Regions from separate parts of the Homo sapiens genome. Here region 2 is linked to region 1. The links are contacts of gene promoters, found by promoter capture Hi-C in blood cells and fetal thymus (Javierre and others, 2016). All regions are on one chromosome and are shown on one strand. The core of a region is centred on a gene start or on the middle of the fragment in contact, and the rest is flanking DNA. Distances in the headings are between cores, read along the strand shown.

Region 1 (2,851 bases), core at 245-2,744:
CGTGGTGAAACTCCATCTCTACTAAAAATACAAACATTATCTGGGCGTGGTGGCGTGTGCCTGTAATCCCAGCTACTTGGGAGGCTGAGGCAGGAGAACCGCTTGAATCCAGGAAGCAGAGGTTGCAGTGAGCCAAGACCCGGCCACTGCACTCCAGCCTGGGTGATATCTGTAAATAATGGTTCCATGAGTTTAGAAATACAAAGTAGCATGACTTAACAAATTTACACATCTATGTAACCAGGTCCCAATCAAGATACAGAATAATTCTATCACCCAGGAAGTTCTCTTGTGTCTGGACCAAACATCCTTCTCCACAGGTAAGCTCTGTTAGTTTTTATCAGCATAGATTTTATTTGTCCTATTCTTGAATCTCATATAAATAGATTATACATTATGTATTTGGTGGTCCTTCAACATAATGGCCAGGTGTGGTGGCTCATGCCTGTAATCCCAACACTTTGAGAGGCCAAGGCAGGAGGATCTCTGGAGTTAGCAGGAGATCAAAAGCAGCCTGAGCAATATAATGAAGACTTCCGTCTCTGCAAAAAGTTTAAAAACTAGCCAGGAGTGGTGGTGCGGGCCTGTGGGCCCAGCTACCTGGGAGGCTGAGGTGGGAGGTCAAGGGTGCAGTGAGCCGAGATCACACCACTGCATTCCAGCCTGGGCGACACAATGAGACCCTGACTCAAAAAAGAAACGAAAAAACGCATTGTGTGTTGTGTTTATTGGATGGTGGAATTATGGGGTTTACGGGTCTTCTGTTGCGTTTTGGTTTTTGTTTTCTTACCTGTTATCGCGTTCCTAACAGTAGAAATTGGCATCATATAGTATTCTCATGGAACTTTCCTTTGTTCAAAGCCCTACAGTTCAGAGACTTACACATTTAATGTGAGATATGACAGGCTTAAAAAGAAACGTTGGGGGCCGGGCGCGGTGGCTCACGCCTGTAATCCCAACACTTTGGGAGGCTGAGGCGGGAGGATCACAAGGTCAGCAGTTCGAGATCAGCCTGGCCAACATGGTGAAACCCCATCTCTACTAAAAATACAAAAATTAGCCGGGCGTGGTGGCGGGCACCTGTAATCCCAGCTACTCGGGAGGCTGAGGTAGAATAGCTTGAACACGGAGGCGGAGGTTGCAGTGAGTCGAGATCCCGCCACGGCACTCCAGCCTGGGACAGAGCGAGACTCCGTCTCGAAAAAAAATAATAAAATAAATAATAAAATAAATAAAATAAAATAAACGTTGGCTTATTTCAGTGTGAAGTAAGGCAATAAACGGAGGGCTAACAGTTCCACTTCGTAGAGCTCAGACATTTTAAGAAGCGAGGAGGCCGCGTCCTGGAAGGGTGAGCAAAAAGCGCGAGGTTTGCGCACGAAGGGAAAGGCGAGGCCCGAGGAGAGACCTGGCGCCGCGCAGAATGATGATGTCGCACGCTGGGTGGGAACTGACGTCACCTGTGCTCACCGCCGCTTCCGGTCCGCGTGAGGTGCATTCTCGCGCCGGTGGCGAGGTTAGGGCCCGCGTTGCGACGTGGTGCAGCGCATATTTTCACAAGTGGGTCTCCCTTGTCCGGGACTATGGCCACCGACTCGTGGGCCCTGGCGGTGGACGAGCAGGAAGCGGCTGTCAAGTCGGTCAGTAGCTCAGCTCCTGGCGAGGAGGACGTAGCAGGGGCCCAAGCGAAACCTCCCAAAAGCACAGGGAGCTCCCCGGGTTGGGGAGGCCCCTGGGCAACGCGCTCCTGCAGTTTGCTAGGGCAGTCACTTGCCCTTGATTTGCTCTTAGAGCTAAAGAGACCAATGTCGAGCTTTTTATCTCCATCTGGGCTGGTTAAGGACTTCATCCTTTGGTAAATCCGCCCCACTATGCATGCTGTCATTCCTCTATTGACCTCCTCGGTGACGATTATAAGGAAAGCCAAGTTTAGATTCTGATTCTCTTTTTCATTACGCGACTGTTCTTCGCATGTTTCTGTACTACTCTGTATTTAACATTTCTTAGATCCATGCTTAACGTGGTTGGTAGTTTGTAGCTCTTTGCAGAATAACAGATTGACTTTTGGATTTAATACCTCAATCTACTGCAGATGTTGGAAGGAGGCACTACAAATTGTTTCATTGATGTGTAAAGTAACGGTTTCATGTACTTGTTCTTTCAGTAATGAATATTCATTCAACTGGAATGTAATTACAGCATACACTGTGGCTTTCTGTTCTTATATCTAAGACCTAAACTTTAGGTTTGTTTAGTGATAATGGACTGTCTTTTTTTTTGTTGTAGTTGTTTCTCTTTTGAGGCAGAGTTTTGCTCTTGTTGCCCAGGCTGGAGTGCAATGGCGCCATCTCGGCTCACCGCAACCTCCGCCTCCCGGGTTCAAGCGATTCTCCTGCCTCAGTCTCCCGAGTAGCTGGGATTACAGGCATGCGCCACCACGCCCGGCTAATTTTGTATTTTTTGTAGAGACGGGGTTTCTCCATGTTGGTCAGGCTGGTCTCGAACTCCCGACCTCAAGTGATCCGCCCACCTCGGCCTCCCAAAGTGCTGGGATTACAGCCGTGAGTCACCGCGCCCAGCCGGTATGGGGATTTTTGAGAGGGCTATTGACAGAATTAGACAAGGCTGGCAAGGATTTATTGAACTACAGAGAACAGAATATGTTAGAAGTGATGGCTAATAGAAATATCAGTGTAGAAGTTATTCTGATAGCCCCGAGATAGAGGGCCTATGTTGGGCAGTGGAAGTGAAAATTAAGGGATGGGTATAAGATATGAAGGTAGAATGGGTAGGACTTGCTAACATAATAAAGGAGAGAAGGGAGATAAAGCCAAAGGTTTCTGTTTTCAAC
Region 2 (2,851 bases), core at 175-2,674, 200 kb after region 1:
GATAACAAACAAAGCACTTAGCTTAAGGTATGGCATGAAGTGTTCGATAAATGTTAGCTGTTAACATTGGTGTTTCAGGGAATTTGAAAATGTTTTGTCTCTGCCAAAATATATTCATCAGTTCACCAAAATTTCAATGACTCAGACCCAATTTAGAGCCATAGGTCTGGTTTTTGGTTTTTTGTTGTTGTTGTTTTTGTTTTTGTTTTTTTGAGTGCAGTGGTGAGACTTTGCTTCACTGTAGCCTCCAACGCCCAGTCTCAAGCAAGCAATTCTCCCACCTTAGCTTCTGGAGTAGCTGGGACTACAGGTGTGCGCCATCACGCTTGGCTAATTTATTTATTTATTTTTGGTAGAGACAGGGTCTTGCTATTTTGCCAGGGCTGGTCTTGAACTCCTGGGCTCAAGTGAGCCTCCCACTTCACCCTCCCAAAGTGTTGTGATTACAAGCGTGAGCCACCGCGCCTGGCCAAGAGCCATTGCTCTTGATTCGTTAGTTACTTATTTCTCATTGGATCCTAGTGAGCATATGATGAAAGCTAGTGCTTTACACAAAAAATGCATATGTGCGGCTGGGCACGGTGGCGCACGCCTGTAATTCCAGCACTTTAGGAGGCTGAAGCAGCTGGATCACCCAAGGTCAGGAGTTCGAGACCAGCCTGGCCAACATGGTGAAACCCCTTCTCTACTAAAACTACAAAAATGAGCCGAGAGTGGTGGTGGGTGTCTGTAATCCCAGCTACTCAGGAGACTAAGGCAGGAGAATAGCTTGAACTGGGAGGTAGAGGTTGCAGTGAGCCGAGATCACGCCACTGTACTCCAGCTTGGGCAAAAGAGTGATACTGTCTCTAAAAAAATGCATATGTGCATTAACAGAAAATTTTTGTATAGTGTAAGAGATAAATGACTCAAGAATCATTTTTTAGTTTCCTGCTACTTCTCTCCCCACTTCAAATCTATAGACAAACCTTTGTTATATATAAAAATATTTTCTGAGGTGGGCAGATCACGAGGTCAGGAGATCGAGACCATCTTGGCTAACACGGTGAAACCCCGTCTCTACTAAAAATACAAAAAGATTAGCCAGGCGTGGTGGCGGGCGCCTGTAGTCCCAGCTACTCAGGAGGCTGAGGCAGGAGAATGGCGTGAACCCGGGAGGTGGAGCTTGCAGTGAGCCAAGATCGCGCCATTGCACTCGAGCCTGGGCGACAGAGCGAGACTCCGTCTCAAAAAAAAAAAATTTTTTTTTAAATTGTTGAACGTTGCTTTATTCCTTTATGTCTATTTGTTACACCTTGTTGTCTAACTAGATTGTGGTCTCAATTGAGCCAGGGTGACTGACAGTTTTACATTTGGTATAGACTATAGCATAGTTGACAGTTGAATTTTATTGATGATGAAGTTCTTAGGTCTTCCTTCTAATTATACCAGTAAACTAGGAAAAGGGCTAGTCTTTCTGTGAATATACATGAATTCTTCCTATAAGATGTGGGTTACACGTTATATATAAGTGGCTAGTTTATTGTCTCTAGATCATTTAAAAACATTCAATAATTTTAATTTTATAATGATTTTAAATTTATAAAAAAATTGCAAAGACAGTACAGAGAGTTCCTGTATAACCTACACCCAGTTTTCCCCTCTAGATCATTTTGAATTTGGCTTAGATGTTTTGTTTACTCTTATGTTTGAGAACCTATAGGACATGTAGAGAATCATTCACTCTTGACTTTAAGGAGCATAAAAATCTAATCAGAAAGACAAAACAGTTAGTACCCTAAGAGGTGGTGACTGATTTCTTTCTTTTTTTTGGAGACGGAGTCTCGCTCAGTCACCCAGGCTGGAGTGCAATGATGCAATCTCAGCTCACCGCAACCTCCGCCTCCCGGGTTCAAGCGATTCTCCCGCCTCAGCCTCCCGAGTAGCTGGGATTACGGCACCCGCCATCATGCCTGGCTAATTTTTATATTTTTGCAGAGACGGGTTTCACCGTGTTGGCCAGCTGGTCTTGAACTCCTGACCTAAGGCAATCCACCCGCCTCGGCATCCCAAAGTGCTGGGATTTCAGGTGTGAGCCACTGGGCCCAGCCGGTGGTGACTGATTTCTATGAGTGCTTATAGAAGGGAGAGGTGACTGCCAGCCAAGGGGATAAGGGAATAATTTTGTTAAAGGAGGTGGCATTTGAATTGGTCCACATGGGATTTGGCCTTATGGGAGCTGGGGAAAGAAAGGGGATGCTAATTTAGATGGCCTGATTGATTCCCAGTGGTTACTGCTGTTCTGAGGATGATCAAGGCATATTGTACTTGAAGGAAAGGGGTATGGTTTTGCCTGCAGCAACTGTACCCTCTCAGACATCCTGTAACTTTTGCTTAAGACTGTCATGGGGATTGCCACTAAGAACCAGCCTGTTTGGTTCTTAGATTCTTCTTTCACTAGGTGGTTTCATCCTTTAAATACAGCATACGTTGTGAACCCTGCCTTTGAGACCTTATTTTTTGATGTGATTGTAAGCAGGTAGCTGAGTTGCATGCTCACTGGATCTGTGGCTTCCCTCTTCTCCTGTCAGGTGTCAGAAATGGCTGTTTCTGAGCTACCTGGTAACCCCAACGCTGTCTGGACAGTGCGTCGACACATTGAAGGTAAGCAGCTTTTTCCCAATAGTCAAAATGAGGATCTAGGTGCCATTGACATAGAAGGCTTGAAAGGCTGCGTTCATAATACTTCTGTATCATTTCATTTAGCACCATATACCAGAAACTTTCTGGCCCAACACTGTTTTTGAGGCTCTTCCGTTCAGGATGCCTTCACCTACCATTTCTTTTTGTGCAGGTGGGAAAGGGGGAACAT

Evidence for each region. The method cuts DNA at HindIII sites, captures the fragments that hold promoters and counts their contacts. A CHiCAGO score of 5 or more calls a contact.
Region 2: a contact is called between a fragment that was not itself captured here and the fragment with the promoter of DDX19A in region 1, in 3 of 17 cell types (activated CD4 T cells, non-activated CD4 T cells and erythroblasts). The highest score is 5.4, in activated CD4 T cells.

Annotation. Positions count from the first base shown.
Region 1 is chr16:70,345,409-70,348,259 of GRCh38, forward strand. It overlaps DDX19A (DEAD-box helicase 19A), which reads left to right and starts at 1,495. Exons shown (of 12, transcript NM_018332.5): 1 at 1,495-1,640. The coding sequence starts at 1,584. DDX19A-DT (DDX19A divergent transcript) reads right to left here and starts at 1,339. Exons shown (of 5, transcript NR_039997.1): 1 at 791-1,339. RefSeq lists enhancers at 495-1,113, 1,114-1,731, 1,250-1,739. The HindIII fragment of the contact is 29,277 bases long and covers 1-2,851 here.
Region 2 is chr16:70,545,800-70,548,650 of GRCh38, forward strand. SF3B3 (splicing factor 3b subunit 3) reads left to right here. Exons shown (of 26, transcript NM_012426.5): 11 at 2,571-2,643. Among named protein-coding and RNA genes, the nearest start is that of SNORD111, 9.2 kb to the left of the region's middle. The HindIII fragment of the contact is 3,294 bases long and covers 1-2,851 here.